Linked DNA regions of Homo sapiens: regions 1, 2, 3, 5 and 6 are each linked to region 4. The links are contacts of gene promoters, found by promoter capture Hi-C in blood cells and fetal thymus (Javierre and others, 2016). All regions are on one chromosome and are shown on one strand. Each heading gives the region's core, a stretch centred on a gene start or on the middle of the fragment in contact. The rest is flanking DNA. Distances are from core to core; before and after follow the strand shown.

What was found. The method cuts DNA at HindIII sites, captures the fragments that hold promoters and counts their contacts. A CHiCAGO score of 5 or more calls a contact.
Region 1: a fragment that was not itself captured here is called in contact with the fragment with the promoter of DNAJC8 in region 4 in 3 of 17 cell types (M0 macrophages, M2 macrophages and M1 macrophages); the score reaches 10.9 in M0 macrophages.
Region 2: a fragment that was not itself captured here is called in contact with the fragment with the promoter of DNAJC8 in region 4 in 3 of 17 cell types (M2 macrophages, M0 macrophages and M1 macrophages); the score reaches 8.4 in M2 macrophages.
Region 3: a fragment that was not itself captured here is called in contact with the fragment with the promoter of DNAJC8 in region 4 in 3 of 17 cell types (M2 macrophages, M0 macrophages and M1 macrophages); the score reaches 10.7 in M2 macrophages.
Region 5: a contact is called between the fragment with the promoter of EYA3 here and the fragment with the promoter of DNAJC8 in region 4, in 6 of 17 cell types (M2 macrophages, M1 macrophages, endothelial precursors and 3 more). The highest score is 13.3, in M2 macrophages.
Region 6: a contact is called between a fragment that was not itself captured here and the fragment with the promoter of DNAJC8 in region 4, in 3 of 17 cell types (M0 macrophages, M1 macrophages and M2 macrophages). The highest score is 8.4, in M0 macrophages.

Annotation. Positions count from the first base shown.
Region 1 is chr1:28,035,533-28,039,395 of GRCh38, reverse strand. EYA3 (EYA transcriptional coactivator and phosphatase 3) reads left to right here. Exons shown (of 18, transcript NM_001990.4): 5 at 491-557; 6 at 3,716-3,852. Among named protein-coding and RNA genes, the nearest start is that of EYA3, 51 kb to the left of the region's middle. The HindIII fragment of the contact is 3,293 bases long and covers 775-3,863 here.
Region 2 is chr1:27,977,695-27,981,390 of GRCh38, reverse strand. EYA3 (EYA transcriptional coactivator and phosphatase 3) reads left to right here. Exons shown (of 18, transcript NM_001990.4): 17 at 2,917-3,017. Among named protein-coding and RNA genes, the nearest start is that of XKR8, 20 kb to the right of the region's middle. The HindIII fragment of the contact is 4,618 bases long and covers 1-3,696 here.
Region 3 is chr1:28,015,977-28,020,062 of GRCh38, reverse strand. EYA3 (EYA transcriptional coactivator and phosphatase 3) reads left to right here. Exons shown (of 18, transcript NM_001990.4): 8 at 2,824-2,909. Among named protein-coding and RNA genes, the nearest start is that of XKR8, 58 kb to the right of the region's middle. The HindIII fragment of the contact is 5,795 bases long and covers 1-4,086 here.
Region 4 is chr1:28,231,150-28,235,209 of GRCh38, reverse strand. DNAJC8 (DnaJ heat shock protein family (Hsp40) member C8) reads left to right here and starts at 2,181. Exons shown (of 9, transcript NM_014280.3): 1 at 2,181-2,289. The coding sequence starts at 2,212. RefSeq lists enhancers at 1-187, 1,958-2,491. The HindIII fragment of the contact is 12,029 bases long and covers 598-4,060 here.
Region 5 is chr1:28,087,293-28,091,311 of GRCh38, reverse strand. EYA3 (EYA transcriptional coactivator and phosphatase 3) reads left to right here and starts at 2,702. Exons shown (of 18, transcript NM_001990.4): 1 at 2,702-2,788. RefSeq lists enhancers at 2,763-2,832, 3,043-3,102. The HindIII fragment of the contact is 6,678 bases long and covers 2,582-4,019 here.
Region 6 is chr1:27,996,606-28,000,780 of GRCh38, reverse strand. It overlaps EYA3 (EYA transcriptional coactivator and phosphatase 3), which reads left to right. Exons shown (of 18, transcript NM_001990.4): 12 at 732-821; 13 at 3,403-3,461. Among named protein-coding and RNA genes, the nearest start is that of XKR8, 39 kb to the right of the region's middle. The HindIII fragment of the contact is 7,042 bases long and covers 1-4,175 here.

The DNA.
Region 1 (3,863 bases), core at 1,172-3,671, 200 kb after region 4:
ATTATGCATAGCAGTAGCAGTGGTTTTAAAATAAGATTGGGTGCCTCCCCCAAATCTGTTTTCCTGCAAGTCATTCTTAAGGCTTTTACTCAATATAGTAAGCACTCAAAGAACAAATAAGCTGAAGTAGAATAATGTGGTTTTCCAGACATAAAGCTTGCTTTTTAAGTTTGCCTATCAGCATAGCCGAAAGCTTAGAAGGTTGCTTCATCTATTATTTTAGATCAGTAATGGGTAAAGGTAGAGATCCTTACCAACCTTCAGCTCTTTTCCATACCCCACCCTTCTTTTTTTAACTGCCTCTGGAAGTCTATAAACACATGTATAAACAAAAAAGTGAGATATTTTCTACCACATAGTCTTTCTATCTGGTGTCCAAGCTGTATTCTGTTAATTAGTTTGAAAGACTATACAGTGAGATGTGCAGTTTTCCCATTCCATTTTCGAAATGTTCTAACTTTTTAACCTGGTGATATTATCTTTCTTTCAGTTATGACATGCACCGATTACATCCCTCGCTCATCCAATGATTATACCTCACAAATGTATTCTGCAAAGTAAGTTGAATAATTATTTCCAAAATGCATATGCTTTTTCTGTAGATTCATTGCAAAATTTAATATTATTTTTCCTCTAAAATAATAGATATTTAAATTATTTTTACCTCTCTTATTCTATCGTCATTCCAATTTTTAATTCCCTCTAAATATAGTCTATGTAGTATCCTTTTAAAAAGTAGATGGTGTCTGCAATGGATCATTTTACACAAAAGCTTACTCTAAAATGAGTAGGCACTGAACATGCAAAATAGTGTTAGTGATCAACCATATCATTGATTGACCTCTGATCATTTTCTCTGTCCTGTACCTTGACATATAGCATACAGATTAATAAAAACAAGACTGAATTTCTCAGTCCAATCTGTGTTCGGTTTTTTTTTTTTTTTTTTTTTTTTTAAGATAGAATCTCACTCTGTTTGTTGCCCAGGCTGGAGTGCAGTGGCACGATCTTGGCTCACTGCAACCTCCACCTCCCGGGTTCAAGTGATTCTCCTGCCTCAGCCTCCCGGATAGCTGGGACTACAGGCATGCCACCACGCCCAGCTAATTTTTGTATTTTTTAGTAGAGATGGGATTTCACCATGTTGACCAGGCTGTTTTCAAACGGCTGACCTCAGGTGATCTGCCTACCTCGCAAAGTGCTGGGATTACAGTCGTGAGCCATCACGCCCAGCCTGTGTTCAGTTTCTTGATTGAGGAATGTCCTCAGAGTAGAACCGGGCTTGAAGTTAGACAGGTTTGGTGGGTTAGTCACTAAGAGGTTATGTTTTGGGCCTTCATGGGGTAAGATCAGCATTAATATCAGCCAGGTTTTTCATCTCCAAAGTGGGTAGGTGCAGAACAGTGTGTATACCAAGCTACCTATTGTGCGTAATAAAGAGTGGACCTATGCATACAAAGACACATACAAGTGCATTTATTAAGCCAGGATATGTGCTTATGTGCTTACAGCTGCTGGATACATAAAGAAATTGGTAACAAAAGCAAGAGATACTTTATGGGGCTGTTATAAAAAGGAAACTGTCTTTCTTTTCCCTGGTTATATCTGTTTTTACCTTTTGAATTTTCATTAATTAAAAAATAAACTAATTAAAAAGTCAACCCAATGAGTTCTTCTAATTTTTAATCTGGTATTAACACTAATGGTGTCCTTGGGCTAATCATTTTCATGTGACTTTCTTCTGTGAAATAACTGAACCTATTCTCTGAGATTATTATGAAGAAATTAGATACTAAATGTGAAAACACATTTGAGCTTTGGGCTACAAAGACTCTGCATGAAAAAGGACATTATGGTCTTTACCATATCTGGAGATTAATCCATTTAAGGTCACTAAGATTTAAATCATTCCCATGTGACTTGAGTAACAACTCTAACCTGAGCTATTTCCTGGACTCAGATCTGGCTAAGAAGAATAGTTATTTTTAAATTCAGTTTTTTAGAATGTACTGAGATGTTAATATGTTGCAGATTCCAAATTCATTTATTCATTCAGAAAGTATTTGCATACCTGCTACATTCAGAATTCCTTATTAGCTATCTTAATTATTCTATCTTAATTCAGACCTCTTTATTACTTATCTGAACTGTTTTTTAACTGGATCTCCATTTCCAGTTTCTCCTCCCTTTCTAAACCATTTTACAAAGCAGTGTCAAAATAATCTTTATTAAAGAACAGCTCTGATCTTGTCACTCTTTGCTCAATAATTTCAGTGGCTCTCAGTTTCAGATTTGCCTTTTAGCCTGGCATTCAAGGTCTTTGCTTCCTTTCTCTCGCTACTTCTCTTAATATACTTCCCTCAGTTATCTGTGCTCTTTGCAGGCCGAAGCCCTTGCTTTCCTTACTCTATACCCTCCAGGACTTTTTTCTTGTCCTAGAACACCCTTTCTCTCCCAGTTCTGTGCCTCTTATCTGCTCAGCTAGTATATCACTTCTTTATGGCCTTTCTTCATTTTCCTCTTCCCCCAAAGGTGAAAAAAAAAATTTCCCCTTTAAAACACCCCCTGCTATATTTTATTATGCTTACATGGTACAAATAGCATTTTCTTTTTTACTTATATATACAGTGTAACTCACCAAATGAGATAATTGGTATCTAAAAATTCAGTGCAATATCATGGATGAAACAATTATATCTGCTAGCTAGTGTAAAGTCCCAGGAGTTTCACTGCTGAAATCTCTAGCTATCCCTGATATGGTGGCACCAACTAGTGGCAGTATGCCCTGACTTAAATATCATTGAGGAGATTGAGTCCTGTCTGGAACTTCCCAGATTTTGTTACTTACCTGGGTTCTGTTTTGTAGACTTGATTTGAGGATATTGGAACCCATCTCTACTTCCGTTTTTTGATGTGTTTGCTTGCCTTTTCTCCACCAGCCTCACCCGCTTTTCCAGTCTCACTTTCCCTCTCAGAACTTTAGTTTGGTTCAAGGGGCAGGGTGGAGAATGAGAGCCAATTGCCAATCTTGTTCTCTTAGTTTTCTATTATATTAGGATTTTATTCTAGATGTAGGCATAAGAGCATGAATAAGTTTAATCCATCCTTGTGTCTCACATAGGGCCATGCATGTAGCACACTAGAAATGTTTGTAGGATAATTGGAACTTGGAGGGATGTTTGGAACTATTAAATTTTTCATAAAATTGTTCCTTGGGTTGATGATAGGAGAACGTAGAAAGGAGGAAAGACTTCTACTTTCTGATCATAAGAGCCATTTTAGGCCGGGCGCAGTGGCTCACGCCTGTAATCCCAGCAGTTTGGGAGGCCAAGGTGGGTGGATCACTTGAGGTCGGGAGTTCGAGGCCAGCCTGGCCAACATGGTGAAACACCGTCTCTACTAAAAATACAAAAATTAGCCAGGCATGGTGGTGGGTGCCTGTAATCCCAGGTATTTGGGAGGCTGAGGCAGAAGAATTGCTTGAACCGGGGAGGCAGAGGCTGCAATGAGTTGAGATCATGCCACTGCACTCCAGCCTGGGCGACAGAGCAAGACTCTGTCTCAAAAATAAAAAATTTTTGAAAAGAGCCATTTTATGTGGAAGATTAGTCTCCTTGTTGCAGATTCTTTGCTGTTAGTGGTGGTAGCTATTTTACCTATTTTTCGTTACTAAAGTAAATCACACAAAAGTTTTTGTTTTCATGAAATTTTCCAGACCTTATGCACATATTCTCTCAGTTCCTGTTTCGGAAACTGCTTACCCTGGACAGACTCAATACCAGACACTACAGCAGACTCAACCCTATGCTGTCTACCCTCAGGCAACCCAAACGTATGGACTACCTCCTTTTGGTAAGGCACTG
Region 2 (3,696 bases), core at 647-3,146, 250 kb after region 4:
CTGAGACCTGGCACCCGCAGGCTCATCAGGCTAATGGAAATGATCTCATTCCCTCTGTCAGTAAGTGTGCTTATTTGGTATTTTTCCTCAGTCTCAGTTCATCCAGAGCTAATTTGCAAAGCTGCAGTGGGATCTGGTGCTATGGTAACCACAGTAGGAGGCTTGAGGCTTTTCTTCACAGAACTGTGAAATGGGAGCAAGGAGAAGAAATACTTTTTCACTTCCTCTGAAATGATAGCAAAATATGGTTCTCTTAATGGCCATTCTGTGATTTGGGGACATTAAAGAGAATTCTCAAAATAATTTCTGAAAATGTCAGAAGTTTTTTTTGTTTTGGGGGGTTTTCTTGAGACAGGGTCTCACTCTGGTACCTAGGCTGGAGTGCAGTGGCACGATTATAGCCCATTGCAACCTTAACCTTCCCACGCTCAAGCGATCCACCCACATCAGCCTCCTGAGTAGCCAGGACTTCAGGCGTGTTCCACCACCATACCCAGCTAATTTTTTAATTTTTTGTAGGGAAAAGGTCCCACTGTGTTGCCCAAGCTAATCTCAAACTCTTGTGCTCAAGTAATCCTCCTGCCTTAGGCCTCCCAAAGTGCTGGGATTGCAGACTTGAGCCACCGCTCCTGGCTAGAAATATTTTAATAGAGAAAACCCAGGGACTAATATTCTCCAAAGATTTGGCTGATCTTACAGTTCACCAGCTTCAATTGCTTGACATATGGTAAACTGATTAATCATTGGCCTCATCCTCCTGAACAGGAAAGCTCATATCCAGAAATGGAAGTATTTTACCAACTGTATTGGAGTGAGTCCTGTTTTCATGGAGCTGCTTCTTTACTTTGAGCTGTTAATAACTCTCTTGGCCTCTTAATCCTTTTAAAGGAGACATTACAGAGTATATTTCATCCTTGATCATTGCATGCCAGGACAGTGAAAATGTCTGTGTTCTTATCCTCAAAATATGAGTTACTGCCTTTGTTGAGTCTTACAAGAAAGTCAAACTGACTCACTTAAAAAAGTTTTTTGCTACAGACAGATCATAGTAGACTGTGCATCTGGTGGAGGTTGGCTTAGTTTGTAAAGCTGTAATGGGTGAAATGGAATTAAAGAACTCTTCAACACCATGAACATAATAAGAATTTATTATTAGTTGAATGGTTTAATGTTTGAACTGAATTGAGGCATAAGACCTGGACTACAGTCCTCCACTGAATCATTTGTGAGATTAATATGAATTTACTCAGCAAACATTGATTGAATCCCTCATATGAATGTAAGGCATGACAATTCTATTGTAAAATATTAGCACTAAAAGAGACCCAAGTGCACCTAAGCCAAGCCTTGTATTGTAAGTGGCCAGCTGAGCCCAGAGTGATCTAGTGTCTGGTCCAGTTGACTAGTCCGTCTGTTTTGAAGTGCCACTGGGTTAAGGATGTCAAAGATTTGCAGTTACATATCTGCACAACTTCTGTGCCAAGTAGGACTTCTGCGTATGGAAGTATAAGTTCTGGCCAATTATGTTACAGTTATCTTAGATTTGTATATTTATATATTACAGTGATTTTCCAGCAGATGGCAGTCAAATGTCTTGAGGAAGAGGCAGCTTTATCTTATTTACACAGGAACCCTGGTGCTAAGTCACTCTGTTGGGCAAGGGGAAAGAACAAGAAGGTTAATAGAGCAGGATGAAGAAGAAAGCCAAAGTTAGGACCTTGTTTAACTGAAGAAGGTGGCAGAAGCAGGGAGATAAAAAGAGCAAGGGATATAACTTCTTTTTATTTATACAAATAAAGTATCTTTCCCACAGCAGTATGATCTGTGTATGTTTTAGGTGTTGGTTGCAGATGGGATTTGAGTTTTGATACACTGCCATGTTTCTCAAAACTGTCTGCAGTTCTGAGAAATGGATTTAAATCACCCATTTCCCAAGGTCAATTTCAGTGATGCAGTATCTTGGTTACAACTACAAGGTATAGTAAGTAAGGAGGTTCCAGATATGACAAATGTTGATGCCATATTTATTGGTCACTGTTCTCAGTTCTATTCTGGGGCTGTTCTCTCACTGAAAGACGTAAGGCCTATACCCAGGACTGTTTCTGGGAAATGAAGAATTGGAGGGAAATGGCTTTTTGTTTGTTATTGTTTCTAACAAGAAATCAGGGCCTTGTGTTTTCACTTCTCTTTTCTACCCTAAAACATTTCACCCCAAAAATCATTCATTCATTATGACACAATGACCAGAGCCTAGATTTGGAGTCAGGGGCCCCAAGTTCTAGCTACTTGCTTGTTTGTGATCTAGGGGCAAGTCACTAAACCTATTAATCTTTCCCATTTATAGAAATTCCCTCACACTAAGATCTTAGGGACTTCACCCTCAACGTGAAGGTTAAAATAAGTTTTTGGGTTGTTTGTTTGTTTGTTTTGAGACAGAGTTCGCTCTTGTTGCCCAGGCTGGAGTGCGATGGCATGATCTCGGCTCACTGCAACCTCCGCCTCCCGGGTTCAAGCGATTCTCCTGCCTCAGCCTCCCCAGTAGCTGGGATTACAGGCACGCGCCGCCATGCCCAGCTAATTTTGTTTTTTAGTAGAGACGGGGTTTCTCCATGTTGGTCAGGCTGGTCTCAAATTCCCGACCTCAGGTGATTCGCCCGCCTCGGTCTCCCAAAGTGCTGGGATTACAGGCTTGAGCCACCATGCCCGGCCAAGTTATTTTAATGGCACAACTTCACATTCTTTGGGCAGAGGGTCTACTGGATCTCTAGCTCCCATCCCTACTCCCCAGCAAGCAAACTACATGGGCTGTCACTTAGTCCACCTAAGCACAGGCAGGTGAACCTAGCAGCAGCCCTCTTCTTTGGTTTTGAAAAGAAGAGAAGAGTATTCTAACAGGAAATTTCTTTTTCTCATCAGGTAAGGAGAGCTGCTTTGAGAGAATTGTGTCAAGGTTTGGAAAGAAAGTCACATATGTAGTGATTGGAGATGGACGAGATGAAGAAATTGCAGCCAAACAGGTAACCATGGTAAAGAAAAATAGTCTATGTGGTTGTACATCGAGTAATGAGAAAAATGGGAAAAACTACAAAATCTTAGCAATCTATTATGCATTTATAATATTTTCTCTTTCTTCCTCTCCCATTTTTCTTTAAAGAAAAAGAGGGTCTTTTTTTTCTCCAGATGGAGTTTTTCCTCTTAAGTTTTTAGATCCATCCCTTCCTCTTCCTCCCTGTCACTCAAGAATCTTAAAATCTTTAAGCCCTTCTACAGGGATCCCATCATTAAACCTGAGATGTGCCCCATCTTCCATCTTCAAAGACAGTGCCTTCTCAAGCATCAGACTTGACTGCAAAAAGGCTAATCATTCTTTCTTTTCCATGCTTCAAGTTCTCAGACAGTACAACCAATAGCTGTTTCTGTAGAGAAAGTCTTTCCTGCCTTTGAGCCCTGGAAAGATTGTTCTGATGTTAACCCCACCACTATACAGGTCCCAACTTCAGGTCACCCCTTCTTTTTTTCTTTTTTCTTTTTTTTTCTGTTTTTGAGATAGAGTCTCACTCTATCTCCCAGGCTGGAATGCAGTGGCACAGTCTTGGCTCACTGCAACCTCCGCCTCCTGGGTTCAAGCAATTTTCCTTCCTCAGCCTCCCAAGTGGCTGGGACTACAGGCACCCGCCACCATGCCCAACTAATTTT
Region 3 (4,086 bases), core at 714-3,213, 210 kb after region 4:
CCCCATAGAGATCAGATATGACTGAGTTGTACCTCCCACCATTATTAAGTTATGGAGAAGTAGCCGGGCGTGGTGGCTCATGCCTGTAATCCCAGCACTTTGGGAGGCTGAGGTGGGTGGATCACCTGAGGTCAGGTGTTCAAGACCACCCTGACCAACATGGTGAAACCCATCTCTACTAAAAAAAATGCAGCATTAGCCGGGCTTGGTGGTGCATGTCTGTAATCTCAGCTACCTGGGAAACTGAGGCAGGAGGATTCTTGAACCCGGGAGGCGGAGGTTGCAGTGAGCCGAGACTACCATTGCACTCTAGCCTGGGCAACAAGAGTGATACTCATCTCAAAAAAAAGAAAAAAAGGATATGGAGAAGGTAGGACAGAATTAAAGATCAATAGGTGAAAAAGAGGATTGTATGCCAGGACCAGGGCCAGAAGAAAACTGAACTAAAAATGGACTTGCTGGGGAAGATAAATGATTAAATCAATTCTTTATTTTATTTCCCACCTTAAATCACCTGTGTTCAGTTTTATTGCAGGCCTGCCTAGGATAATGTACTGATAACAAAATCTGGAAACCATTCAAAATTCTTTTCCTACAAGAATGGTTAAAACCATTTACAGAGTCAGTTACCCTGTATATTGTCATGTTTTGATGCTTCCTCTTAGGAAAAAGGATGGCTTAAGCCACAGTAGGAAAGAAGGTGAATATTGGTTGAAAGAAAATACCTTCTGTAAAGCTATAAAACCTATTTCATTTAGTTGTTATGTTTAGGAAAGTAAGCCCTTAAGAGTCCTTTAGTTCCCCTGAAGCAAAACGTGCTATAGAAAATAAAGTTACTCTGGATAGTTAGGAAATTTGTTTTTGTTTTTGTTGTTTTAATTTTTTTTAATTTATTTTTTGAGACTGAGTCACTCTGTCGCCCAGGCTGGAGTGCAGTGGCGCGATCTCAGCTCACTGCAACCTCTGCCTCCCGAGTTTAAGTGATTCTCCTGCCTCAGCCTCCTGCATAGCTGGGATTACAGGTGCACACCATCACACCTGGTTAATTTTTGTATTTTTAGTGGAGATGGGGTTTCATCATGTTGGCTAGGCTGGTCTCAAACTCTTGACCTCAGGTGATCCACCCACTTCAGGCTCCCAAAGTGCTGGGGTTACAGGCGTGAGCCACCACGCACCTGGCCATAGTTAGGGAATTTGAACCCTAGCTTAGCTGCTGACCCTGAGGAAGAAGCACTGGATGAAGAATTGGGAGATCCAAGTTGTCATTTTGGTTATCTTCCATTATTTTTGCTGCTGTGGACAAGTTACTTTAATTCTTCTTTGTCCTAGGTTCTTCATCTTAAAGCTGGGGTTGCAGCAATAGCTGTAACTGAACTTACTGTCTTCTGGATTGTCTTCTAAGCCGAGTACCCTTAGGGAAAGGGATGAAAATTATCTAATTTTGACCAGAGCACTTAAGTTTCTATTGCATTTGTTCTCCTGCCCTGTTCTCAATGGAAGTTTTCTTACTAATTTTCTCTCTGGGGGACTTTGTTAATGGGGCAGGTAGTCAGTTAGTCAGGTCTACCTGATGGTGAACCCATATGGTGTGTGTACCTGCAGTAGGAACCATGTCTAAGTGTGTTTATGATAAATGAGGACAAGGAGTTTGAGAACAGTACTGATAATATCAGTTACATTGTTCACCTGAGAAAAGTCACTGGTTAGTGCTAGTCATTGAGATTTTGATTAAAACCCTAGTAGAATGAACCTATGACAGAAGAAGTATAAAACTTAACCCAAATTACTTGTCTTTATTTTTATTGTTTTATGTGAATGGAAATCAGCATTTTCTTTCTTTTTTTTCTTTTTTCTTTTCTTTTTTTTTGAGACAGAGTCTTGCTCTGTCACCCAGGCTGTAGTGCAGTCATGCGATTTTGGCTCATTGCAACCTCCACTTCCTGAGTTCAAGCGATTCTCATGTCTCAGCCTCCTGAGTAACTGGGATTACAGGCCCGTGCCCACCATACCCAGTTCATTTTTATATTTTTAGTAGAGATGGGGTTTCACCACGTTGGCAAGGCTGGTCTCAAACTCCTGGCCTCAAATGATCTGCCTGCCTCGGCCTCCGAAAGTGCTGGGATACAGGCATGAGCCACCACACCTGGCCTCAAATTACTTAAGACAGCCCAAGTATCATATAAGGTACATTTTTATCTGACCAGAGTAATATTTAATATTTTCTGAGTTTTTCCAGGCTCATTGTTAAAGTCTCTAAATGCTATGTCATTGTGTTTATTGATCCACATTAGTAATCTATTATTTGAGTAGAACTCAAGAAGCAATTCTAAATGCTTTGGAATTTGGAGGACCAGCTCTATTTCTCATGTAATTATGTTGTATTAGGAAAGGCGTAACTTGGGGCAAGTGACAGCAAACAATATCACAGTGTAAGATTTACCAGAGTTCTACTGCTTTACAGTAGGTCACATTGCAGGTGAGTCATTTTTCAGCCTCTGGAGAAGATGGGCTGGAGGAATTGGATTTAGCTGTGATTTCATTGATATTATTAGTATGAGCTGTGAATTGAATATATATCCTTTTAGGCCTTTAATAAGAAGAATTGAAGACTCAAGTTGAAACAGAAAGATGTTTCAAATGTTTTGTTTTTAACCAAGTGTAAATGTAGCTATCCCACACAAAAAAGCAAAACGAGTGTTTGTTTCCTTTGCCAATGTTGTTTATCTCCTTATAAATCTGTTCACTTAAAACACATCTATTTTCAGTTTCTTCTAACCTTTTACATAATATCTTTAATATCTTTTAACCCCATCAATCCTCTAGCTTCAAGCACAAATGCCAGCCTGATATCTACTTCTTCTACAATTGCCAATATTCCAGCAGCAGCAGTAGCCAGCATCTCAAACCAGGTATGATGCTACCTTTGTTCATCCTGTTTGATAGAGTTCATCCAGCTTGCTCTTTCTTCTTTCCATGGTCAATTTGCCTATCTAAGAAACAACCAGGAATAGTATGGGCTGTGGAGACTTTTTTCTGGATACCTTCAGAACTCGGACCCTGGATGGCATCTTAGGTTACTGTCTAGTTTTTGTTGTTCCTCTGCTGGGTCTCTCTAGAATATGGTTATGTCTGTTTCTTTACTGTATTTGTCTTCACTTCCTACTCTGCCCCTACTAGAATGTAAGCTGCATGAAGGTAGGGATTTATTTTTCTGTTTTGTTCATTTACATATTCCCAGAGTATAGAAAAATGCCTGCCACTTACATCAAAGGCACTTGATAAATATTTATGGAATGAACAACTCATTCTTTATGAATTTTTTGTGGTCTATTCTTGATCACTGTTATGTTAACTATGCTTAGGAGATCACTGGTAACACCTTCAGTGTTCTAGAGTTTTTTATTTTTGTTTTGATTTGTTTTCTCTACAGCAATTATCATCACCACTGTCTCCTTGGATCTTTTCCTGGCTACAGTTAACATTACTATTCTGGTTATTATACTGGTTTTGCTTTTTTTTTTTTTTTTTTTAAGATGGAGTCTCACTCACTCTGTCGCCCAGGCTGGAGTACAGTGGTGCGATCTTGGCTCACTGCAACCTCTGCCTCTCAGGTTCAAGTGATTATCCTGCCTCAGCCTCCTGAGTAGCTGGAACTATAGTCATGTGCCACCATGCCCAGCTAATTTTTGTGTTTTTAGTAGAGATGAGGTTTCACATGTTGGCCAGGCTGGTCTCAAACTCCTGACTTAGAGTGAACCGCACCCGCCTTGGCCTCCCAAAGTGCTGGGATTACAGGTGTGAGCCACCGCGCCCAGCCTTGTTTATTCTTTTAGTCCACAAATATTTATTGAGTTCCCACCTGTGTACCTGGTATTTTTCTAAGGACTGTCTCTTTCTCTCTCATAGCTCTTCTTTTTGACCCTGTCTTTGAACGTGGACAGTCTCTATTTGGTTTTTCCACATGTTAATTACTTCATCCACAGGGATGTTTAACCACATAATGTCCATTTACTGTCACCAAAGATTCTAATCCTCCCTCATGATAATTACAGCTTCCAACTGATTGACATTTTTTTCTTTAATGTC
Region 4 (4,060 bases), core at 932-3,431:
TTTCGTTAGCAACATATTGTTGAATGGGCTTAATAACTGCACTTTTGGCAATGTGGTGCAATGCAGTAGAAAAGAGCAGGCCAGGCGCGGTGGCTCACACCTGTAATCCCAGCACTTTGGGAGGCCGAGGCGGGCAGATCACCTGAGGTTGGGAATTCGAGACCAGCTTGACCAACATGGAGAAACCCCATCTCTACTAAAAAAAAAATATGAAAAATTAGCTGGGCATGGTGGCGCATATCTGTAATCCCAGCTACTCGGGAGGCTGAGGCAGGAGAATCGCTTGAACCTGAGAGGCAGGGGGTGCAGTGAGCTGAGATCACGCCATTGCACTCCAGCCTGGTCAACAAGAGAGAAACTGTCTCAAAAATAAATAAATAAAAATAAAAAATAAATTAGCTAGGCGTGGTGGCACATGCCTGTAATCCCAGCTACTTGGGAGGCTGAGGCAGGAGAATGCTTGAACCCGGGAGGCTGAGGTTGCGGTGAGCTGAGATCACGCCATTGCACTGCGGCCTGGGTAACAAGAGCGAAACTCTGTCTCAAAAAAAAAAAAAAAAAAAAAAAAAAAGGATAAGTAGGAGTCTAGGGAAAGCTTGACCTTAACCTCCCTTCATCCATCTAATGAATGTGAACAAGACAACAGTAGTCTTTACTCTCATGAAGTTTATAGCTCTTCTCTAACTCATTTTCTCTTCTCTGTTTCTTCTTTTTTAGATGAGAGAATTGGGCCAGATTATCTACCTGATTGATGATTATAAAAATACCTTCTTTGGGGCTGGGCGTGGTGTCTCACACCTGTAATCCCAGCACTTCGGGAGGCCGAGGCGCATGGATCATGAGGTCAGGAGTTCGAGATCAGCCTGACTAACTCCGTCTCTACTAAAAATACAAAAATCAGCCGGGCGTGGTGACATGCGCCTGTAATCTCAGCTACTCAGGAGGTTGAGGCAGGAGAATTGCTTGAACCTGGGAGGCGGCGGTTGCAGTGAGCCAAGATCATGCCACTGCACTCCAGCCTGGGCAACAGAGCAAGCCTCTGCCTCAAAAAAACAAAACAAAACAAAACCTTCTTTGTTTTCTATGAAATAGTAAAACTGGCTTTATTGATTATATTTTAGTTGAGAAAATAGCAGCCCTACCTGGTATTTTGTTTAATTCCATTTATGTGAAATACGTATTCACATATTGTTTAACTCCATTTATGTGAAATATCCAGAATAGGTAAATCCATATAGATAGAACACAGATTGCTTGTTTTCAGGGACTGGGGAGAGGGGGCGAATAGGGAGTAACTGCTTAATAGGTACTAGGTCTCCTCGGCCAGGCGCGGTGGCTCACGCCTGTAATCCCCGCACTTTGGGAGGCCAAGGCGAGCGGATTACGACGTCAGGAGATCGTAGACCATCCTGGCCAACATGGTGAACATCCGGCTTTACTAAAAATATAAAAATTAGCGGGGCATGGTGGCGTTTGTCTGTAATCTCAGCTACTCGGGAGGCTAAGGCAGAATTTCTGGAACCGGGGAGGCGCCACTGCACTCCAGCCTGGGTGACAGAGTGAGACTCCGTCTAAAAAAAAAAAGTAGATACTAAGTCTCCTTTTGAGGTGATGAAACTATTTTGGAACCAGGTAGACATGGTGGTTGCAGAACATTGTGAATGTTCTGAAGACAGCTGAGCCGGTCCGGCGCGGTGGCTCATGCCTGTAATTCCTGTACTTTGGGAGGCCTGGGCAACATGGCAAGACCCCGTCTCCACAAAAGTACATAAAATTAGCCGGGCATGGTGGCGCGCGCCTGCAGTCCCAGCTACTCGGGAGGCTGAAGTGAGAGGATCGCTTGAGCTTGGGAGGTCGAGGCTGCAGTGAGCTGTGATTGCACCACTCGACTCCAGCCTGGACGACAGAGATCCTGTCTCAAAAATAAATAAATAAATAAACCCACTGAATTATTCACTTTTTCTTTTATTCTTCTTATTATTTTTTACCTAACAATAACTTAAGCACATTATTTACTTTAAAGTGGTTAATTATATGTTATGTGTAATTCGTTTAAATTTTAAAAAGCCCACCTACTTTTAAAGTGCCTGGCTGGGCTGCGAGCCCTTTAAGAACCTCTCAGACGGGAGGCGGGGCTAGAGGAGCGGACCTGTAAGAATCACGTGAGGCGACGCCTGCGCAGAAGGGTCACGTGGTGGCTGGGCCGGGGAAATGGCGGCTTCAGGAGAGAGCGGGACTTCAGGCGGCGGAGGCAGCACCGAGGAAGCATTTATGACCTTCTACAGTGAGGTGAACACAGAGTGAGGAGTAGTGGCACCGGGGCGACCGCTCCCGGATCTGCTTTCCCAGTGGACAAAGGCAGTGGCCGCCTGGCCTGGACCGTTGGGCGATTCCTTCAGTCCAGTCTTCGGGGTGGCGGGGGTCTGGGGGTGTGTGAGCGTCTCCCACTGATAGCTGCTGGGAGATCCCCCGGGGCAACGAAAGAGGGAATGGTGTTCGATCTATCGAGGGAGGTGGCGAGTGTGTCCAACATAGTGCGGGCGCGCGGGCAGAGTGCCCCAAGTCCGCGGAGTCGGGGGCTGGCAGAGGCTGGGCCCTTCCTGGGAGTGACTTAGCCTTCTTGGCCCCCGAGACGTTTCTTAGTCCTTTGTAATGAGTTGTTTTAGTGGTTGTTTCTGCCATTCACGAACGCCAGGCACTGTGTATCATGCCAGTTAGGCATTATATTACCCCCATTTTACAGATGACGAACCTGAGCTTTAGGGAGGTGAAATAGTTTGGGGCCTTACAGTAGGTTACAGCTTGCTTGGTGGTATGTTAGGACAGCAGTGGGCTTGTTCTGAGCCTCCTTTACTATCGCATCTCCAGCGCATAGTATGTAGTGGATGCTCAGTAAATATTTGTTGAGTGAATGAATGAATAAATGAAATAAAAGCATGCCGTTTGGAGTCAGAATCTCAGATTAAATTATTGCAAGGGGCTGGGCACAGTGGCTCACATCTGTAATCCCAGCACTTTGGGAGGCCCAGGCGGGAGGAACCCAAAAGCTCGAGGCTGCAGTGACCTATGATCGGACCACTGCACTCCATTTTTGGCGAGAGTGAGACCCTGTCTCTTTAAAAAGAAGGAAAAAAAGGATAGAAAAAAAAATTCTTGGTTGGGCGCGGTGGCTCACGCCTGTAATCCCAGCACTTTGGGAGGCCGAGACGGGCGGATCACGAGGTCAGGAGATCGAGACCACGGTGAAACCCCGTCTCTACTAGAAATACAAAAAATTAGCTGGGCCTGGTAGTGGGCGCCTGTAGTCCCAGCCACTCGGGAGGCTGAGGCAGGAGAATGGCGTGAACCCGGGAGGCAGAGCTTGCAGTGAGCAGAGATCGCGCCACTGCACTCCAGCTTGGGTGACAGAGCGAGAGACTGTCTAAAAAAGAAAAAAATTCTTGGAAGACAGTTAACCTGACTGGACTGGGATTGAATTCTTTTTTTTTTTCCTAAGGCGGAGTTTTGCTCTTGTTGCCCAGGCCTGGAGTGCAGTGGCACGATCTTGGCCCACTGCAACCTCTGCCTCCCTGGTTCAAGTGATTCTCTCGCCTCAGCCTCCCGAGTAGCTGGGATTACAGGCGCCTGCCACCACGCCTGGCTAATTTTTGTATTTTTGGTAGAGACGGGGGTTTCACCATGTTGGCCAGACTGGTCTTGATCTCCTGACTTAAGGTCCTCCCGCCTCGGCCTCCCAAAGTTGCTGGGATTACAGGCTTGAGCCACCACGCCTGGCCGGGATTGAATTTGTTCAAGACATTAATTTTGCAGATCTTCATATTCCACATCTGTAAAAACAAGAGAGTTAATTTAATTTAATTTATTTATTTTGAGACAGAGCCTCACTCTTGCCCAAGCTGGAATGCACAACCTCTGCCTTCTGGGCTCAAGTGATTCTCCCACATCAGTAGCTGGGACTACAAGCTCAGGCCACCATGCCTGGCTGATTTTTGTATTTTTTTTGTTGTGACAGGGTCTTGTTGTGTTGCCCAGGCTGGTCTTAAACTCCTGGGCTCAAGCA
Region 5 (4,019 bases), core at 1,453-3,952, 140 kb after region 4:
ACAAACATTTACTGAGTGCCTACAGTGTGCCAGGCTCCATTCTGGTGCTGAAAAAACATCCGTGAACAAATCGGACAAACATCCATGGACTCATGGAACTTACATTCTGGCAGGGGGAGAGAGACACTAAGCCAAATTTACAAGCAACTTGTTGGATGGGAAAGTACAAAGAGGATGGTAGTGTTCCAATTTTTAATGTAGTGTCAGGGAAGATCTCATTGAGAAAGTGACATGTGAATAAAGATGTAAATGAGGTGAGCGGATGAATGATGCAGGTATCTGGGGGAAGAGCACTCCAGGCAGATGGATTAAAAAGCACAAAGGCCCTGGGCCTACCTGTAGTTTTGAGGAATGGCAGAGGCCAATGTGCTTTAAGGGGAAGGATGACAGAAGGAGTAGGAGTTGAGGTTAGAGCAGAGCTGTACTGGAGGTGTCAAATCTTGAGGGTCCTGTAGACCAATGTAAGGATTTTGGTTTTTACTCTGAAATAGGAATGCATTGGAGGAAGGATATGATCTAATTAGGGTTTTAACAGGAGCCCATTGCTACTATATTAATAGATTGTGGGGGCCGGGCGTGGAGGCTCACACCTGTAATCCCAGCACTTTGGGAGGCTGAGGCGGGTGGATCACTTGAGGCCAGGAGTTCAAGACCAGTCTGGCCAACATGGCAAAACCCCGTCTCTACTAAAAATATAACAATTAGCCGCGCGTGCTGGCGGGCCCCTGTAATCCCAGCTATTCAGGAGGCTGAGGCAGGAGAACCCAGGAGGCAGAGGTTGCACTGAGCCAAGATCAGGCCAGTACACTCCAGCCTGGGTGACAGAGGGAGGCTCTGTCTGAAAAAAAAAAAAAAAAAAAGATTGTGGGAAGGCAAGAGTATAAATAGGGCACTCACAGTCACTGACTGACTGGTTTATACCAACGGAGGCAGTAAATGGTCAGGTTCTGGACAGATTTTGAAGGCAAATCTTGCAGAACTTGCTGATGGAGTACATGTGGGATATGAGAGAGGAGTTAAGGATCTTAGTAAATGATGTTGCTTAGTACATTGTTGTCATCGGAAGAGGTGATCAAATATACAGTCAAAAAATGTAGAAAAAATAGTTTTTTTTCTGGATTTTGTTATTCGTGGTATTTGTGAGCTAATAAAAATGTTTGTAATTTTTCTCATTATAAAAGGTTCACTTTTATATCTAATATTGTATTTGTAATTTTGGATTTTTTTTTTTTTTAGACAGTCTCGCTCTGTTGCCCAGGCTGGAGTGCAGTGGCATAATCATAACTCACCGCAGCCTCTACCTCCTGGGCTCAGTTAGGTGCGTGCCACCACACCTGGCTAATTTTTCTGGGTTTTTTTTGTTGTTGTTTTGCTTTGTTTGTTTTGTAGAGACAGGGTCTAATTTTGTTGCCCAGGTGATCTCCAACTCCGGGGCTCAAGCAACCGGTCGACCTCGGCGTCCCAAAGTGCTAGGATTTCAGGCATGAGCCACTGTGCCTGGCCTTGATTATTTTAAAGAGGGCCCCCAAATTGAATAAACGTCAAGTCTCCACAAAGCCTGAATTCAACCTTGCTTCTAGCCCATACTTGGGTTGTAATTTAAAATTAACGAAACATTTAAGAATTTTGCTTCCGAAAACAGTGTGCACGAAGTGAATTGTAAGCCTAATATAATATTAAGAATAAACTAAATTTGGGGATAAAAAGATCACCTTGGGGCTCACGCCTGTAATCCCAGCACTTTGGGAGGCCAAGGGATCAACCGAGCTCCAGAGTTGGAGACCAGCCTGGGCAACATGGCGAAACCCCGTCTCTACCGAAAAATACAAAAATTAGCCGGGCGTGGTGGTGCGCGCCGGTAGTCTTAGCTACTCGGGAGGCTGAGGTGGGAGGATCACTTGAACCCAGGAGGCGGGGGTTGCAGTGAGCCGAGATCGCGCCACTGCACTCCAGCCTGGGCGACAGAGCAAGACTCTGTCTCAAAAAAAGAAAAAAAAAAAGGGATGGGCGCGGTGGCTCACGCCTGTAATCTCAGCACTTTGGGAGGCCCAGGCGGGCGGATCACCTGAGGTCGGGAGTTCAAGACCAGCCTGACCAACATGGAGAAACCCCGTCTCTACTAAAACTACAAAATTAGCCGGGCGTGGTGGCACATGCCTGTAATCCCAGCTACTCGAAAGGCTGAGGCAGGAGGATCGCTTGAACCCGGGAGGCGGAGGTTGCAGTGAGCCGAGATCGCGCCATTGCACTCCAGCCTGGGCAACAAGAGCGAAACTCCGTCTCAAAAAAAAAAAAAAAAAAAGATCACCTTGGGCTAGCCTCCCAAATGTCTTCCAAAACTTCCCACTCATTCTCCTTCCCAGTTTTTCTAAATCTACCAAATGCACCCAACACTTCTTACGTTCCTTTTAGCCAGGTAGGGATTACGCGCATTTTTAAAGACCTCCTTAAAAGTGAAGGCTGTAGTACCGTCAGGACTGCCTAGCGCTCACCCAGAAGCTGCTTGTCTCCGAGGCACTAAGAGGGGCGTGGCCATGGGCGTGGCTCGCCGGGCCGGCGGAGTGGGCGGAGCCTAAAAGCTTCCCCGCCCGGTCAGACTCAACACATGCGCCCAGAGGTTTCTAGTGGAACGAGGTGTGGATTGTGAGGTGACTCTGGCCGCTTACTTCCGGTTCCTAGCGATGCGCATCCGGGTCACGCTAACGCCGCGGTTTCCTCCGCTCGATTGGTTCTACTGTGGGTCTGGACTGATCTCCATGTCCTGTTGTGGGGCTTTTACAGCCTTTGGGTGAGTCTCAGCTGCCAACAGGGTCTGAGCGCAGCCGGGCGAGCACAGCGTGAAGGGGGATGGGTCTAGAGTTCTGCCTCGGTCCTTGTGGGTGGGAGTCTCTTCGCCTGTCCCTTGTCACTGCAGTGCTTCACTCACCTCAGCCCTTTCCTTCACGCTGGCCTCGCCTTATTCACCTCAGCTTAGCCTTCTCGCGCTTCCGTGCCTCTGTCGCCTCGCTGTTTTTCCTCAGCCTCATCAGTCCTTTTCCAACCTCGGTTTCTTGCCTTACGCCTCAGCGCTTCTCTCAGCCACTGCCTCTCCTTTTTTCTCCTCCTCCCTTCTTTTAGAACCTCTTTTCCCCTACCCCTGATCTGGGATCTCAGCGTTCTTTCACCTAGCGAGACGGCCCAGCTTCTCATTGTGCTCACTCTTCACCACGAGAAACTGAGCCTCTCCCTAGGGTCCTAGTTCCTTGTCCCCCAACTTTCTTCAGCTTTGATCCTTCCTCCTGGGACCAGTAGGTGACAGTGCTTCTCCTGGGGTTCTTCTGCCTGTCCTTAGCTAGAGGAGAGCTTTGCCAAAGCCCCGAAATGGGAAGACTTCCCCAGCCTGGGGGAAGTTTTGCCTTAAGGCGCCGGGTTAGACTGAACTCTGGTAGCTTCCATAGTTAGGGTACAACAAAGGCGTTCCTAGTTCTTCGCTTTACCTCAGTTTTGGGGCTCTCTCAAGAGCAGCTAACAGGTGGCAGGCACACGGTACTGCTAGCAGTTGGGCTGGCGCGATCTTGTTAATTGACAAGTCATGAAGAAGTTCTGTCAGTTTTGTGTTCCCATGAGAATGGATGTGCACAGCTGAGGCAAAAACGCCAATATTTTGGGACGTTCAGCTCTGTTTTCGGCATGGACGCTTCTTACAGGACACTTGTGATGATAGAGGACAGAATTTGTGGAGAGATCATTAGCCCCAGATTTATGAATTTATTGTGTTGTTTCCGAAAAGTGGTCTGCTGAAGAGTTCACTATAGTAATTTCAAAGTAATCTTTAAACTTAGTATGCACATATGCATTTTTTCATTTTTACTGTATTAAGTTTTCTATTTGTCTTCCTCTTCCTTCATTAGCCAGACTTTACTTAGAATTACATTACTTAGAAGTACATTACTTAGAATATTCTTCTAACTTTTGTATTTTTTTTTCCTTACCATTTCCACCTTTGTAGTAAAACTATCATTTTCTCATTTTGAGATTTA
Region 6 (4,175 bases), core at 1,669-4,168, 240 kb after region 4:
AAATTTTATTTTTTGTGGAGACGGGGGTCTTGCTTTGTTGCCCCAGCTAGTCTAGAATTCCTAGCCTTAAGCAATCTTCCCGCCTCAGCCTCCCAAAGTGCTGAGATGACAGGTGTGAGCTAGCTACCTTGCCTGGTCAGCATTGTATCTTTTTAAAAACATATTTTCTGGCCAGGTGCGGTGGCTCACACCTGTAATCCCAGCACTTTGGGAGGCCGACGGGGGTGGATCACAAGGTTAGGAGATCAAGACCATCCTGGCTAACATAGTGAAACCCTGTCTCTACTAAAAATACAAAAAATTAGCCAGGCGTGGTGGCGGATGCCTGTAGTCCCAGCTACTCGGGAGGCTGAGGCAGGAGAATGGCATGAACCTGGGAGGCAGAACTTGCAGTGAGCCAAGATTGCACCACTGCACTCCAGCCTGGGCGACAGAGTGAGACTCCGTCTCAAAAAAAAAGAAAAAAAAAATCATATTTTCTGTCCTCATTTATCTTTATGAAACTACTAATTTCTAGAAACTAAAGTCCTGAAATTTTTAACTGTCCATATCTTCTCTATTTTACAATCCTGGATTCTCATAACTGTGAATGAAATTGCATCAATGATAGTTTGAAGCACAGTTGGGAGCTCGTGTGTTTTGGCCTTGACCTAAAATAATTTTGAAATTTGAAGATTAGAACCAGGACTGTGACTACCAAGTCAAGCTGATTTTTTCTTATTGTCTTCTAGGACCCAACAGTAGTGATTGGCTCAGGTTTAACAATGGAAGAAATGATTTTTGAAGTGGCTGATACTCATCTATTTTTCAATGACTTAGAGGTAAGCATTTTAAATTGTTTCTGTGCTTCACTGAGACACTTCATTCAATAACTATTTAGAGCTTTTGCTTATTATATTAGAAGATATGTGTTTAGATAGGGTGGATATGGAGAGGCCAGCTGGCCACTAAGGCATACATACATAGTCTTAGAGAAATAGTACTTGTGGTTGGGTCACCACAGTTTTGGTTCTGACATTCAATTTTATTGGCTCAAAAATTTGATTTTTGTTAGTTTATTTGGAGGTGATCTAGCACTAGGGGAAAGGCCAACCCATCAGGCAAAACACTGACATATAAACCAATATTCTAACTTAATAATCTATATTAAATAATATATATAAAGTGAGTTTGATTATTTGTACTCTCAATTATGTTTTGACTTTTCTTCCATTTTACATTCTTAAAGGATAGTCTCCTGATTTGTCGAATCTATAAATGGTTACTCTAACCCATCATATTTTATACATATTTGTTGTTCATATGTAGGTTAACCTTGATATTCAGAATAATTTTATAGTTAGGTGCCAGAAAAACCAGGAAACACTAAGAGCTTCATGGTGAAATTTTTTGGCTTTGACATTTGAGTTCACCTTTAAGGTGAACATGGTGTAGCAGAAGGAGCACAGGACAGGGAGTCAGAAGACCAGAATGTGAATCTCACATAGGGAAAGTTATGTTCCCATTCTGGGCCTCAGTTATGCAGTCATCCTACACAGGAAACTACCAACACTGATTACCATCTATGGAGAGGGATGAGTTGCCAGGACACAAAGGTGGGAGGGAGCACACTTTTCACTTCATGTCCTTTGAATTTTGAGCTGTGTAGTACATGTTTTACCTAGTTTTAAAAATAGTGAAAATTTTAAAGTAAAGTAATATAGGATTTTATAGGCTGGGCGTGGTGGCTCATGCCTGTAATCCCAAAACTTTGGGAGGCCGAGGCGGGCAGATCACTTGAGGTCAGGAGTTCGAGACCAGCCTGAGCACCATGGTGAAACCCCGTCTCTACCAAAAATACAAAAATTAGCCGGGCATGGTGGCGCACACCTGTAATCCCAGCTACTCAGGAGGCTGAGGCAGGAGAATTGCTTGAACCCAGAAGGGGAAGGTTGCAGTGAGCAAAGATTGCACTACTGCACTCCAGCCTGGGCAGCAGAGAGAGACTCTGTCTTTAAAATAAAAAATAAAAAGATAGTATTTTATAAACACAAAGTAATCATTTTTTTAATCTTTTTTTTTTTTTTAGTAATAGAGATGGGGTTTCACTGTATTGCCCAGGCTGGTCTCAAACTCCTGAGCTCAAGTGATCCTCCCACCTTGGCCTCCCAAAGTACTGGGATTACCGGCGTGAGCACTGCACCCAGCCAACACAAAGTAATCCCATCTCTTTTAAAATAAACGTCTGTTCTACTCAACAGACAATTCTTCAATAAATTAATAGTGCCCCGAGCTCCAGTACTTTTGTCTAAACTCCATAATGCTTTAATCTTCCCTCAACTTCATATGTTGATAAATTAGGACATCATAGTTTTTATTCAGCAAACATTTATTGAAAACCTACTACATGCCAATAATTATTGCCAATTGTATTTGTAATGATTTTCTAGACATAGTCCTCACTCAGGAACTGAAAGTTCTGTGAAGAATTTGACCTGAATGTGTTCCTGCCCCCCAGGTCAGTGCTTCTCAACTTTAGGGGGCATAAGAATCACCTGGGGAGCTTCTTAAAAGTGGAGATTCTAGGACTTCACTCTCAGAAATTCTGATTCAAGTAGGTCTGGGATGGACCCAAGAATATGCATTTTTAAAAAACTTCCCCAGAGGATTCTGATGCAGGTACCCTAAGTGGTATCAGAGGAGTACATCCATCAGTTAGGTAGTGGGCGGCATTTTATGTCAGTAGTAGCATGGGCTTGGTGGAAAGAACCTTGGATTAGAAGCGGGGGAAAAAAAGAAGCAGAAAACCTGGGTTATTTCTAGTCTCTTTCTGCCACTCACTAATTGTATGACTTTGAGAAAATCATTTCACCTCACTTTTAAAACATGAGGAGATTGATTTAGATGACCTCTTCTAACTCCTGACTTTGAAGTTAGAAATTTCAGTCATTCTCGGTTTTGATACCACACTACCAGCGTCTGTTTTGTCTATAAAAATTTATTGGGCACAACCTACGTAAGGATACTGGACTAGATCAGAGAGATGCAAAGGAGATGTGAGATGTGGCTCCTGCCCCAAGAGACCTGCATTGTAATAGGACTTACAGTCTGGTGTAGGACATAAGAACATTTGAAGTGTAAGGGAGCTTGTGCTTATTCCCATGAGCTGTTGGAGAAATGAAATATTGAGATAGGAGTAGAAACAAGGGATGGGATAGTTACAGAACTCATGAAGACTGGGATGTGAATCAGGTCTTAAGAGGAATTGGACAGCAAGGGGTGTGAGAGTGATCACCCACACATAAGAGATTCCATAAGGCATTTCATTATCCTGCCACTGTATATGGTCTTTTTATAGTATGTCATGATGGTAATATCACTTCTACTCCCTGGACTGAAGTAATATGTTTTGTCTTTTAACAGGAGTGTGACCAGGTACATGTGGAAGATGTGGCTTCTGATGACAATGGCCAAGACTTGAGGTGATAAACATAATGATTCTTGAACACCAGTACACCTGTTATGTGCAAGATCTGTCTGTCTAGGTTTGGAGGAAAACAAAGATAAATAGAATATATCTCTGAAAGAGCTCACAACCTGTTAGAGGACATAGAAACAAACATAGTTAACCGTGATGTATAGTGTGAGAAGGTGACAATAGAAAATGCCGTGGAGCACGAGAAGAAAGAATTCTGTTGGGATAGGGAGTGGGTAGTGCCAACACTGGAGAGGTTTCTCAGTGGAGTAGCATTAAAGCAGAACATTAAAGAATGGGTAGCAAGCCAGGCACAGTGGCTCACACCTGTAATTGCAGCATCTTAGAAGCGCGAGGCAGGAGGATCACTTGAGTCTTGGAGTTCAAGACCAGCCTGGACAACACAGGGAGATCCCATCTCTGTAAGGTAGTCTTCCACATTTTATTATAGTGAAAGTTAAACCAAGGAGATCTCAGTGGCAAAATGCTTGCTCAGGCTCCTCATTCCTCTTTGTTCTGGCCCACTAGCCTTAGCTAAGAAAGATCCAAAAATTTATCTAGCTTAAAGACTTATAAGAAAAAAACCTGTCACATCTTTTCATATTAGTTTGTTTGAATGTTTATCCCTTTTTATAAGTAAAATGTTCTTCCCAGTAACTACCCCAAAATTCAGTGTTCTATCCACCAGTTCTCAAATACGGAGTAGAACTGGACATACCAC